4 separate regions of the Homo sapiens genome follow, and all the other regions are linked to region 4. Evidence: promoter capture Hi-C in 16 types of primary human blood cells and fetal thymus (Javierre and others, 2016). All regions are on one chromosome and are shown on one strand. Each heading gives the region's core, a stretch centred on a gene start or on the middle of the fragment in contact. The rest is flanking DNA. Distances are from core to core; before and after follow the strand shown.

What was found. The method cuts DNA at HindIII sites, captures the fragments that hold promoters and counts their contacts. A CHiCAGO score of 5 or more calls a contact.
Region 1: a contact is called between a fragment that was not itself captured here and the fragment with the promoter of PDGFRA in region 4, in 17 of 17 cell types (M2 macrophages, naive CD4 T cells, endothelial precursors and 14 more). The highest score is 17.2, in M2 macrophages.
Region 2: a contact is called between a fragment that was not itself captured here and the fragment with the promoter of PDGFRA in region 4, in 17 of 17 cell types (naive CD4 T cells, total CD8 T cells, activated CD4 T cells and 14 more). The highest score is 17.5, in naive CD4 T cells.
Region 3: a contact is called between a fragment that was not itself captured here and the fragment with the promoter of PDGFRA in region 4, in 1 of 17 cell types (activated CD4 T cells). The highest score is 6.0, in activated CD4 T cells.

Annotation. Positions count from the first base shown.
Region 1 is chr4:53,902,456-53,905,708 of GRCh38, forward strand. All of the region lies in intron 1 of LOC124900702 (a long non-coding RNA gene), which reads left to right. Among named protein-coding and RNA genes, the nearest start is that of CHIC2, 160 kb to the right of the region's middle. The HindIII fragment of the contact is 1,398 bases long and covers 1,108-2,505 here.
Region 2 is chr4:53,922,203-53,925,782 of GRCh38, forward strand. No RefSeq gene overlaps it. Among named protein-coding and RNA genes, the nearest start is that of CHIC2, 140 kb to the right of the region's middle. The HindIII fragment of the contact is 7,899 bases long and covers 1-3,580 here.
Region 3 is chr4:53,945,715-53,948,933 of GRCh38, forward strand. No RefSeq gene overlaps it. Among named protein-coding and RNA genes, the nearest start is that of CHIC2, 120 kb to the right of the region's middle. The HindIII fragment of the contact is 2,358 bases long and covers 269-2,626 here.
Region 4 is chr4:54,227,130-54,230,546 of GRCh38, forward strand. It overlaps PDGFRA (platelet derived growth factor receptor alpha), which reads left to right and starts at 2,164. Exons shown (of 23, transcript NM_006206.6): 1 at 2,164-2,286. RefSeq lists an enhancer at 637-1,462. The HindIII fragment of the contact is 8,996 bases long and covers 1,302-3,417 here.

The DNA.
Region 1 (3,253 bases), core at 557-3,056, 330 kb before region 4:
GGGCTTCTCATTTGAAGCAGCGCGTGATAACTCATTGTGTGACCGCCTGTTTTCTCTGCAGATCTGAGCTGAAAAGGATCATACCAGATTTATTTCATTGCTGTAGAGCCAGTCCCACCACACTGCCTGGGCACATAGAAGGCATGTTTTGTTAATTTATGCAGTCAATACAAACTAATTGATTGCAGATCTTCAATCCTTTGTAATTCCAAACTCCCAAAATGCTCTGAAAACCAAAAGATTTTCTGTAAGCTGGCAGCAAGCTCATTGAACTCACCGGAACGGATGCATGGCAGTCCCCAGTCTTTATGATCTGCCTTAATTGTGACTACAGTCTTCTCCCCTCATCCATAGTTTCTTTTTCCGAGGCTTCTGTTACCAATGGTCAACAACAGTCCAAAAATATTAAATGGAAAAATCCAGAACTAAAAAATTTATGTTTTTAATTGCTTGCCATTCTGAGAGAAGTGTGATGAAATCTCACGCTGTCCCAGTCTGTTCCACCTGGGAAATGAATCATCCTTTTGTTTAGTATATCCATGTTGTATGTGCTGCCTTCCCCATACAGTGTGGTTATATAAGAAAAAACACAATGAGGCCAGGTGTAGTGGGTCACACCTGTAATCCAGCACTTTGGGAGGCCAAGGCAGGAAGACTGCTTAAGTCCAGAAATTCAAGACCAGCCTAGGCAACATATGAAGATCCTGTCTCTACAAAAAATTAACAAAATTAGCCTGATGTGGCAGTACACACCTGTAGTCTCAGCTACTCAGAAGGCTGAAGTAGGAGGATCGCTTGAGTCCGGGAGGTTGAGGCTACAATGAGTTGCGATAGTGCCACTGTACTCCAACCTGGGTAACAGAGCGAGACTCTATCTTAAACAGAAGGAGGGAAGGAAGGAAGAAAGGAAGGAGGGAGGGAAGGAGGGGGGGGAAGGGAGGGGAGGGGAGAGAGAGAGAAAGAGAGAAAGAAAGAAAAAAGAAAAGAAAGAAAGGAAAGAGAAAGAAAGAAAGAAAGAAAGAAAGAAAGAAAGAAAAAAGAAAAGAAAGAAAGAAAGGAAAGAAAGAGGGAGAAAGAAAGAGTTTACATAGGGTTTGGTCTTGCCCAAGCTTGCAGGCATCCACTGGTGGTCTTGGACTGGATCCCCCATGGATAAGAGGGCACTACTGTATTGATACATTTTGCATGTTTCACAGCAGAAAAGCAAATGTGTTTGATTATGGGATGCAGCCCCAAACTCTGTGGGGGTGTTATATAACTTAGTGATACTCACCATTTGAGATTCCTAAATTCTGAATTGTCAAAACACTTGGCCCCGATGGGCTTCAGATAAGGTGTTTGGGATGTGTATCTGTTTGTATCAGGCATTGAGGTGCTGAGAATACTGTAGTTGAATAAAACCATCAAGGCCTTTACTGTCTTGGAATTGACTTTTCAGCTAACAAGACAATAACAAGGAAGCAAATACGATAATTTCTGAAAGAGATAAGTGTTCTGAAGAAATGAAATCAGGAGAATGGAATAGAGATATGATGGATATTAGAGAAATCCTTGCTAAGAAGACATAAATAAAGAAAACGTAACAACCTGGTGAAGAGATTATTTCAAGGCACTTTCACTCATTCATTCATGCCCATTCCATTCCTACCTCAGGACCTTTATACCTGCTGTCTCTTTTACCTGGAAGAAGCAAATTATGTAACCTTCTCGAAACTCATTTTGCTTAAGATTGCTCATGTCTGTAAAGTGTCAGGGCTGGAACAAAAATCAAAGCTCTATGACACAAAGTTAGATTTGTGGGGTCATGAGGGAAACACCCACCTTAAGAGCAGGTTTGGAGGATTAGATAGAAGTTCTCTATGAACTTGACCACAATAGCTGATATCACAGCACAGTTTCTCCTCTCTCAGTAATAAAGACTCAGATCAAGGCAGCATCTCTCTGAGCAAGGAATGAGGATCCTTCTATAGAAAAGCTGGGACCTGGCTAGTGTGTCTACTGAACTGCTCTTTCAAAGTTCTGCACTCCCTCCACACGGGGCTTGAGTTTCCATAGACAAAAAAACATAACATGGTCACCAAAGAGAACCTTCAGCATTGTTTCTCCAGCAACTGAGACTCCAGTGAAAAGTACACCTTCCTGGGAACCAGCACCCAACCTATCCTGGACCAGGTCTCCCAGCCAATGGTGCTGCTCGTGAGTGTCCAGTCCTCAATTGTTTTGTTATTATTGTTGCTATTGTTGTTGGGTTTCCCTTGGTCTTCTTATTTAAGAGAAGGTAGAGGCTGCTCTAGGGGCAATGCTTATGCCTGGAACGAATGAGCCTTTATTGTGGACAAGCTCTGTGAGTGAAGGCCCTCCTTGAGTCTGGTGATAAAAATAGGCTATGGCCAGGCAGGATACAGAAGAGCATGACCAATCACCAAATAAAGGTTTATTGGCTTATACATTTTATTGTACCGTGACATCCCTCCTTTCAGCTTTAGATGTCAGCAGCTGGTGGCAAGCTTAATGACTGATGCATAGGGGAACAGCCATGGACACCACAGTTTGGCTCCCCCTAAAACAGTGATGCTTCATCCTTACTTGGCCAGCTTCTGGAATCCTAGTGAACACACTACAGAACATCAGGTTTGCCTGGGCAGTAACATCCAAGGGGAGCTTCCAGGTTCCTCTTGGCTGAGCAAGACTATTTTTTTCCTTATTTCAAAGAGCTGTTGTTCTGACTAAAGGAAGAGAGGATGTATATGGTAATGAGAACTGTATACATTTCTCCTAAAGTCTCCTACTTTATCTTCTTTAATTCTGCATCTGACTCTGCCTGGGTAGAAATCGTATTCAAAATTATCCCAGCCTCTTCAATCTCCTTAATAAGATCTCTCAAAATGGAACACACTGTCTCGTGTGCCTATAAGGGATGTGCAATGCCTCTTTTGTGCTTTTGTTCACTCTTATCTGATGTTCTAACACATTTTCACTTTGAGGAGTTTGGAAATGTATCTGCATAGTCATTGCCGTTTAAGTACTCCACTGATTACAAAATGCTTTCATACACATTGTCTTGAGGAAATGCTCTGAAAAATAAACTGCTAACACTCTGGTAAAGAGCCTTCTGCAGTTAGCAAAATAGTCACCAGGACCTTCTTTTTAAATGACTACACTTTCCACACTTTTTCTATCTTTGTTGACTTAAGTTCAAAGTCAAACTAGAAAATCTGTTTTGTCAGATGGAAGTTCGCTACTCACCGTTCTG
Region 2 (3,580 bases), core at 684-3,183, 310 kb before region 4:
GTCCCTATAACTTCTGAGACCAAAAGCAATGCATTTCAGAATGTTACCATTTGCCAGAAAGTTCTTGATATCGACTATAACGTTCATCTGCTGCAATTTATGCCTCTCTCAGGCCTCTCTCCTGCATACTGGACACTCCCCTTCCCCACTCCCACCCTTATTCTCCCACTCCCATTGGCGATCTCACAGGGTCTTCACCTTAATCCCATGGTTGTCAACCTGGGGAGTTTGGCCCCACCAAGGACATTCAGCCATATCTGGAGATACGTTTGAAGCCACCTGCGGGTGGTGGGGAGGTGTGCTACAGGCATCTAGTGGGTAGAGGCCAGGGAAGCTGCTGCACATCCTGCAGTGCACAGGACAGTCCCCGAAAGAATTATCTGGCCCAAAATGTCAATAGAGCTTAGACTGAGAAACCCTGAAAACAGAACTCTTGATTTCTGTGCCCCAAATCCGTTCTTACTCAAGTCTGTTTTCTCAGTACAAGTCACCATGACTCAAAGTTGTTTCTCAGGCCTCAAATCAAAGAGTTTGCCTAATTTGTCCCTTTCACTCATCCCTTTTTTTCACATTTAATCTCTAACTGTCACACTAAAGAAAAAGAGTTTGGCCAGGTGCAGTGACTCACACCTGTAATCCCAGCATTTTGGGAGGCTGAGGCGGGCAGATCACCTGAGGTCAGGAGTTCGAGATCAGCCTGGCCAACATGGTGAAACCCTGTCTCTACTAAAAATACAAAAATTAGCTGGGCATGGTGGTGCACGCCTATAATCCCAGCTACTTTGGAGGCTGAGGCAGGAGAATTGCATGCCATTGCACTCCAGTCTGGGTGACAGAGTAAGGATCTGTCTCCAAAAAAAAAAAAAAAAAGAAAAAGAGTTTAATTCAATGATATTTGACTCATGTTCCCCTTCTCCAACGTGGCGGTTCAGCTAACTCATTACAGTATCTACTTATTCATCCAATCAACAAATGTTTATTGAGAGACCTCTAAATGCTCAACGTCCATATCAGCTTCACTGGAACCCTGTAAAGCCTCCTAACTTTTTCAGTTTTCATGAAAATACAGTTAAGTACCAATGGGTAGTTTATTTGATCGTGTTCAAAAGATTTTGCTAAAACACTAAAATAGGCTGGGCGTGGTGGCTCACACCTGTAATCCCAGCACTTTGGGAGGCCAAGATGGGTGGGTTACTTGAGGTCAGGAGTTCGTGACCAGCCTGGCCAACATGGTGAAACCCTGTCTCTACTGAAAATACAAATATTAGCCAGGCATGGTGGTGCATGCCTGTAATCCCAGCTACTTGGGAGGCTGAAGAAGGAGAATCGCTTGAACCTGGGAGATGGAGGTTGCAGTGAGTCAAGATAGTGCCAGTGCACTCCAGCCTGGGCGACAAAGTGGGACTCTGTCTCAAAAAGAAAACACACACACTAAAATAAAGAAAAGTTTAGGCTGGGCGTGATGGCTCACGCCTGTAATCCCAACACTTAGGGAGGCCGAGGCAGGTGGATCACAAGGTCAAGAGATAGAGACCATCCTGGCCAACATGGTGAAACCCTGTCTCTACTAAAAATACAAAAATTAGCTGGGCATGGTGGCATACTTCTAAGATATTTATCCTAAGGAGACAAACTATTACAAGAAATCTTTTTTTAAATTTTTATTTCCATAGGTTTTTGGGGAACAGGTGGTATTTGGTTACAGAGATAAGTTTTTTTGTGGTGATTAGTGAGATTTTGGTGCACCCATCACCCGAGCAGTGCACACTGCACCTAATTTGTAGTCTTTTATCTCTCACCCTTTTTTTTTCTTTTCAAACTTTTGCAAAAGGTGTCCTAGTTCTTGGCAATGTTTCCCCTGGGCTCTGGTTACATCATTAACAGTTGAATCACAACTATACCCAGACAGTCACCTGGGAGAGAACTGGGAACTTCATCTGGTTTGGCGACCACTCCCTCCTCCGGCGGCAGGTATCTAGCAGCAGGATAACTGATATCGTAAAGGTGGGTTTTGATAAAGGTGGGAGTGTGCACTAGACTTGCAGAGGATCACACTTGGATTTCAACAGGATGGGGTAGAAAGATAAGAGCAATGAATTGTACTCCTTGTTTTTTTAAAAACGAACCAAAGATAGAGAGAGACACATGACAGTGTCAAAAAAAAAAACTCTCCTTTTTTATTCTAAAATCCTGTTTTCTTATTGAGTCAATTGCAGAGGTCCCTCTGTGACACTCCAGAATATAACCCCTCCCTGCCTGGAGGCCTTGCTCAGGATAACTTTTCCCGTCTGCCTGTGGCTCAGAGGTGGTTGGAGCCAGGCTGAATGGAGGGCAGGCAGGCAGCTCTGCTGATTCTTTTCCACTTGAAAGGGGGCTTGGGGACTGAGACAGCCATCATCCCTTGCCACCTCCACTGAGCCAGTCTGTTGCGGGTGGAGACTGAACTTGGACTGGCTGAGGACCTGGGTCTCCCTACACTGGCCAAACCCCACAAGCCTCTCACAGCCTGCAGCCATCCCAGCGTGTCTCTGAGCACTCTCATTCCCTCCACCCTGCCCCACACCTCCATCTTTCAGTGTCTTTGTCCTGCCATGCACCGTTCCCTCTGCTAGAAATGTCCTTCTCATCCTTTAACCCGTAATATCTGCGTATCCTTCCAGACAAAACTTCAGCCTTATCTTCTCCCAGCCATCTCTCCGAATGCCCCAGGGCAGAAGTAGCACACTTTTGTACTTCCCTCTCAGAGTGCTCAGGACACAGTCCAGTATTAAGTAATGCACACAGTGCTTCTCCCAGTAAAGTTTGAGTTCCTGGAGGGCTGGAGACATGTTTGATTTATCTTTGTCATTTCTAGGACATGAGAGGCTCTCAATAAATGTGGAATGAATTGATAACTGACTAAATAAATGACACCAGTCTGAAATTCCTAACTAAAGTTACTTAGAGATCATTTTTCCCAACCTGGTTCTCCCCTTCACTTGCTGTGTGGCCTTTGGCAAGTTACTTAACCTCTCTGTGCCTCCATTTCTTCATCTGTAAAATGCAGCTAATAGTAGAAGGATATATCTACTTTATAGGGTGGCATGAGCATCATCTGTTAGTGTAGGTAAAGTACTTAGATAAGTACCTGGCAAATAATAAGCACTCGGTAAATGTCAGAGTTTACATGCACATGCCCAGAGATGCATCTGACTCACCCCACCTCTGTCCCCACCCACACTGCTGTGAGGGTTGGCTGCTGATGGCTCTACCTGCAGCCTTTCTTTGGAGAATTACTCTCAGCCAAAGGGAGCAGCCTCACCTAAAGGGTTACTCTGTGCAGCTCATGGTCAATGACTGATGACCTACGGTACAAAAGGTTGCCCCCCTGCATCAACTTGATGACCTGGGATACAAAAGGCTGGCCCTCTGTATGGACTTGATGTCCTGGAGTACAAAAGCCTGCCCCCTGCCTTAAAGTAGCACCAACTTCTTAGGGCGAGCTGTGCTCCCAAGGTCCTCTTTGCAGCAGGCTGAAGCTAGTCTCCAACCCAGCATCCCTTCACCCTTCCCTGTCCTGCTGCCTCACTTCCTAACCCCT
Region 3 (3,219 bases), core at 198-2,697, 280 kb before region 4:
TCTCTCTCTGACCTTCCCCTGTCCTCCTTTCATCTGCCTAAGGCAGGACTCGAAACTGATTGTAGGTCAGAAGCCCCTCATTCCAGAGGGGTCCAGCCCCATACCCTAGAGGAAGGAAGGCTGCACAGAGAGGCCAAGAAAAGCCTAAACACACAGGCCTTGCTGGGTTTAGATTATGTGCTTTTTGTCCAATCACATTTCTACATGGTTGTCTATCATGCCTATGTAATGCAGTCTCCATAAAGACCCAGGAGGACAGGGTTTGGAAAGCTTCAGGATAGTGGAACTCAGGAGGTTCCTGGAGGGTGGGGGCCTCTGGTGGGGGGTGAAAGCTCTGTGGCCCTTTCCCCATACCTTACCCTATGCATCTCTTCATCTGTATCCTTTGTAATATTCATTATAATAAACCAGTAAACATGTTTCCCTGGGTTCTGTGAGCCACTCCAGCAAATTAATCAAACCCAAAGAGGGAATCGTGAGAACCTCAACTTGAAGCCAGTCAGTCAGAAGTTCTGGAGGCCTGGACTTGTGACTGGGGTCTGGAGGTGGCAGAGTGGGGGCAGTTTTGGGGACTGAGCTCTCACTCTGTGGGATCTGATGCTACTTCCAGCATCAATGTCTGCTGCTTGGTGTGTGGGGAAAACCCCCCATGCCTTTGGTCACAGCTTTCTTCTGTGTTGATGGTTGTGGTGGTGGTGTGAGAGCAGAGGAGAAACAGTTTGAAGAGTTTTCCCCAAATAACTGAGGATGGTGAATACAAAAGAACTTGTATAATTTAAGGAGCCTCTCAAATGGCCTATTAAGTATTCTGTGTGATACTTTGTATTAAGAGCGATCCTCACTGAATCGTGAAATTAAAGCCTAAGTGTATCCTTAGAGAAGAACAACTATTTCCGAACCATATTATTAACGGTTTCCTTATTATATTAGTCTGGGTTCCCCTAGAAGCACATCCCAAGACAGAATGAGTACAAGTGATTGATTCAGGAAGTGATCCCAGGAAGTCAGGGAGGGGAATGGGACAGTGAGCCAGGAAAGAGCATAAGCCCAATATGGTGCACATTCATGAGAAGGAGACCACTGTGGGCAGCTGGAGTGCAGGCTAATTGGCAACTGATAACTGCTGGGTGGGTGGAGGTATCCTACCAGAGGGGTGAGGCAGCCAGTTGTATGTACTGCAATCCTCATTTGTCATTGGTGAGGACTGTCCCCTCAGTCAAAGGGGATCATGGGAATCATGGAAGAGTTGCTCCCAAAATCTACATGGAGAAGTACGTCTGTGTAGCAAAGGAGTGGACCGTGGTGGCCATGAGAAAGCTCCTCACAAACCTCCAACCTCAGAGAATATCATTGATTAAGGGCCCCAGCAGCTGCTCCCTGAAATTGATGTGCTAAGGCAGACCCTTTCCTGGAAAATGCAGGGCTCCTCTTACAGCAAATTGTGCTCAAAGCCTCTCCAGGTACCTTTACCAAACTGCCCTTAGACTGGACAGGGGTCTAGAATGCTTCTGCCCACCCTCTCTCCTTCACTGGAAGATTAGATTTGCATTGCAGTCAATGGCTCTCTCTGCCTTTTCCAGATCCCTCCTCACTTTCTCTTACATGAGCATTTTCCCTAATAAAATATTGCATATTTAATTCCATCTTGGTGTCTGCCTGTAGAGGACTCAGATTAACAAAGACAGTAAGTGTAGTGACACAGCAGCACTTTGTACATAGTATTGAATACAAATACATTAGATGGATGGATGGTGTGATGGTTAATTTTATGTGTCAATTTGACTGGGCCATGGGGTGCCCACATACTTGGTCAAATATTGCCCTGGGTGTGTCTGCGAGGGTGTTTTGGGTGAGATTAACATTTAAATCGGTAGACTGTGTAGATTACGCTCTCTAATGTGGGTGGGCCTCATCCATTCAGTTGAAGGCCTGAATAGAACAGAAAGGCTAAGAGCGAATTCTTCAGCCTGACTGCCTTCAAACTGGGACATCACCATTTTTACTGTCCTCAGACTCAAACTGAGCTATTTGCTCCTCCTTGTTCTCAAGGCTGTCAACTCACCCTGCAGGTCTTGGGACTTGGCTGCCTCCATAACCACCTGAGCCAATTCCTTATAATCTCCCTCTCTCTCTCTCTCTCATATATAATATATATTATATTATATACTAAATTATATAATGTAATATAAAGAGATTTATGAGGATGTTTATTATAATTTATACACGTAGGTGTGTGTGTATATATATATGTAAGGGCTCAATAGGCTCAGAAATCTCACTTCTTATATTCTACAAAAAAAGGGTTTGGAATCTGTTGAATCAAAACTCAGGTCCCATTTTGTGATATGAAACAGCTCATCACAAAACATTTTCACAGCTTGTTTCTAGATTTTGGGGCTTGATATTCATATGTTTGTGTAAGGGCTCAATACTTTTATATAGGCTTAGAACATAAAATATATGTTCTGTTTCTTTGGAGAACACTGACTAACATAGATGGGTAGATGGATGGATGGAAAGTTGGATGGATGGATGCATGGGTTGATGGTTGGGTGGGTTGGTGTGTGGATGGATAAATATGAGGTCATGAAGGAGGATATCTCTGTGGTTCAGGGTCATCAGGGAAAGCTTCCCTGTGGAGGAAGGACTTGAACTTGAAGAAGGACAGGAGAGAAGGAGGAGAACACTGGGGAGTGGGAGGTAGAGGAAAGAAATCATGGCCAGCAAACGCTAAGAGGAGGCAGACTCAGAGCATTTGGGGGTCAGTGAACAAACCAGTATGGTTGGATCCAAGAGTCTGTAAATAGGAAGAGTGTGAGTTATATTTAATGAGATAATGAGGCTGAGATTCGAAACCAGTTTGCTTCCCCATAGAGTATGCTTTCACACCATTCCCTTAACTTCCAGGTGAATACCTTTGGTCAAAGAAAAAGATGTGATATGTTTACTCTTTTCCAAAAATATTTTAAAGTGCAGTTCCTTCAAGAGGCATGGAGGTCACCTCCTCAGGAAAGAATTCCCTGTGTAACCCTGTGTAACATAGGAACTCTCATCATGTTCTATCTTAGCACCCAACTTCCTTCTTTCCCAACGTTGATCATAATTTGCACATATTTATTTGCATGCTCATTAACTGACTGTTTTTCCCACTCATCTGTCAGTTCCATCAAGATAGAGACCTGCACTATTCACCCCAGCACAGTGCCAGGTTGACTGGAT
Region 4 (3,417 bases), core at 914-3,413:
GACCTCTCTTCTTTGCACAGTCTCTCCGCAAAATTTTCCCCCAACCATTTGCTTTCTTGCGCCACCCCCCACCGGGGCACTATCCCTGGAGTCAGCTCCTCAGGCCTTTAAACCTTCCAGAATGTCACACATGGAAACCTTTAGCAAATGTTTGTTAATGATCATAACAAAGGCATCATTCAAATTAGGCAGGTAATTACTACCAGAAGGACAACTGGGTGCTCGCTTGCTCATCCATTGCTTTCTGCTTTAAACTCCCGAGGAGTCGCTGCCTGGAGACACTCCCGCCCGGACTGCTTCTCGGGCCCCATTAAACGGCTCTGAAATGAACTGTGAAGTTACCATTTGTGGGCGGAGAGCGCTGGGGCCCTGCGGACGGAAGACCCTGGCTTGACCGGACTAACAGTGTCGCCGAAGCAAAGCAGCCCCTCTGGGTAGGCTGTCTGTCTCGCCTCCTACCCTCTGGGGCAACTAGCCTAAAAACCCGGTTCTCAACTTAACAGCATGTGGCCCAGCACCCGCTTTTGCCTTTTATTCCGCACTCTGATTTTTGGGGGGATCGTTTGTTCCCGCTCATTTTCTACAAACATTACGGTATCCTGTTAGCATTCCGAACAAGGGGCTGTTCATATATTTGCCTTCAATGATTTCCTGAAGGGACATGTGGAAGTAATAGCGAGCGGTGCAGTCACCCAAGCTGAAGATGCACGAGAGCGGGTCGCGTAGAAGAACTGCGGCAATGGGACCCCCAGCGCAGCCCCAGGCGCCCTGTTTTCGAGGCTGACATCCCAAGATCCTGTCCTGGTTAGGCACAGCACCGCGCCCGTTGGAGTACTTCTCTGTGACTCTCCCCTGTCCACTGCACTGTGTCCACCCTCCTGGTGAAGGAGGAGACGGCTGTTGGACATGCCAGTCCCAACCTGGCCACTTTGGCCATTTTCAGAGTGCGTGTGTTGGGGTGGGGTTGAGGGAGAAGGATGAAGGATGACCCCCAACCCCAACAGGAGAATTCAAAAATCAGAGAGCGATGAAGGTGAACGCGCTCCCCTCCCCCGCTGTCGCTGGGAAGCCCCACTCTGCCCAGGTCTGGTTCCTGGAGCATCAGCGCCCCCTTTCCCTCGCCGGCAGGATCGTTTCCTCCCGACACTGGCCTCTCGCCTTGGGCGCAGGGTTTGGGGCTCAGCTGTCAATTCCAAGGAATTCGTAGGGTTCGACCCACGCGGCGGGAGGGAACGGAGGGAGAATCAAAAGGCATCCTCCCCCACGACGCGGAGGCGGTGGTACGATTCCTCAAACGCCCAAGCTTGAGCTTTTTTTGTATGCGAGATAGAAGCCAGGGCAACCTCGCCCAGATAACCCCGAAAACAAAGGCACGACCAGATAAGTGACTTCAAGGGAGTAAAGGTCGTTCTATCGGAGAACGTTCCAAACCTACACAGACCCTCTTTTCTTTGTACCGTATTTCAGACCACCCAGTCTTGTACACACACACACACCACACAAAACAAAAACCCATCATTGTCATATTGGACTCAACAGTTTGCCCAATCCTATTAAATAACTAGCAACTATATAGCCCTTCCCCTAAAAGACCCCTAGTTCAAAACGGCGCAACCGCTTGGAGATTTCTCCCGAGGGCCCTATTTCTCGTTGGGCCGAGTTTGTAGAAGGGACATTTCTTGATTCTAGATTTATATTCTCTCTGGGTATTAAATGCAATTTTGTATGTTCCTTTTCTTCTTTTCAAAGAGAATACAAAACTATAGCAGTCTAAGAAAATAACCCCAAAATGGGGAGGCAAACTCATTCTGGAAATGATGGGCTGTTTGTAGTTTCACAAAACCTCTTTCCCGGCAGAGCACCAACACCTCCCCCTTCCACCACCCCCCATCCCATCTGGTCTGCTTCTCCCCGCCCCCCAGTTGTTGTCGAAGTCTGGGGGTTGGGACTGGACCCCCTGATTGCGTAAGAGCAAAAAGCGAAGGCGCAATCTGGACACTGGGAGATTCGGAGCGCAGGGAGTTTGAGAGAAACTTTTATTTTGAAGAGACCAAGGTTGAGGGGGGGCTTATTTCCTGACAGCTATTTACTTAGAGCAAATGATTAGTTTTAGAAGGATGGACTATAACATTGAATCAATTACAAAACGCGGTTTTTGAGCCCATTACTGTTGGAGCTACAGGGAGAGAAACAGAGGAGGAGACTGCAAGAGATCATTGGAGGCCGTGGGCACGCTCTTTACTCCATGTGTGGGACATTCATTGCGGAATAACATCGGAGGAGAAGGTAAGGGAAAAGAAAAAATGATTTTTTGTTTATAAGGGAAGTCCCTGATCAGACTCTGGGACTGGAGAAAGCGAAGTAACTTCAAACTTTGGGCGACAAGAAAAAAAAAAAGGAGCTGGATTCCAGTTGTGTGTCCAGAGAGTAATTTTTTTTTTTCGGAATAAACTTCACTTGGGGACGGGTGGGAGATAACCATAGAGTTAGAAAGTCTAGGTATTTTTTTTAAACACACATTTTCCAGACCTATTTTTAAAAACAATGTTTTTCTAACAACCCTATGGCCTCCCAAAGAAATTGTTTAGGCTTACATTTTTGAGGTTTCTTTTGGGAGTGGGGGTGGTGTTCGTGAATACTGGGCCGAACACCAAGGAACTGGGGGTGGAGGCAGAGGTGTTTGCCCTCTTCTTGGCAGTGGGTCCTGGAAGGCGACAGGTTTTAAATGAGTGTTTTCATTCCTCGCCTGCGGTTTGGCGGGACAGCGCTGCAGCCCATGGTGTGGAGCGCGGCTGGGGGACCAGGGGGAGGTGGGGAGAGGGGAGCGTGGAGGGGAGCGTGGAGGGGGGCGCGCGAAGGGGTTGCGGGGCGCAGGAGGCGGGCTGGGCTCGGCTGGAGACCGGACCTCGGTGTTGGCCTACAGCACAGGGAGCCGGCCGAATGCGCGTGATTACTGGACGGCGCTGCTCTGGGAGAGAGTCGGGGCCAGATTTGGCGCGGCGGTGAGGCGGCTGCGGGACAAGCAGAGGCGCGCGGGCGTGGGCAAGGGTTTGGGGCGCTCTGGAGCGGTTTGTTGGGTCAGTGAGGTGCCAGGGAGAGCGGGTGCCTGCCGGGCAGTGTGCTCGGGTTGCACGCCCTAGCGCGGGGGCGACAGCGGCGGCGCGGGCGGGCGGTCTGGAATAATGACAAACACATTTGGCCCTGAGTGAAGAAGTCGTCGTCGCCTCGCATTCCAGCAACTGGGATTTGAGGAATTTCGAACCGCACACCAAGGGGCCCTCATTGTGCTCCGTGGCCCCCGCCCCCGCCTGTCTTCCCGCGCCCCCTCCTCGGTGGAATCATTTCTGCATTGCCCGGGGGCTCTGCTTTCGCTCAGTTCTGGCCGCAGGCAGGAAGAGAGGAAAGGTCTCCAGGAAG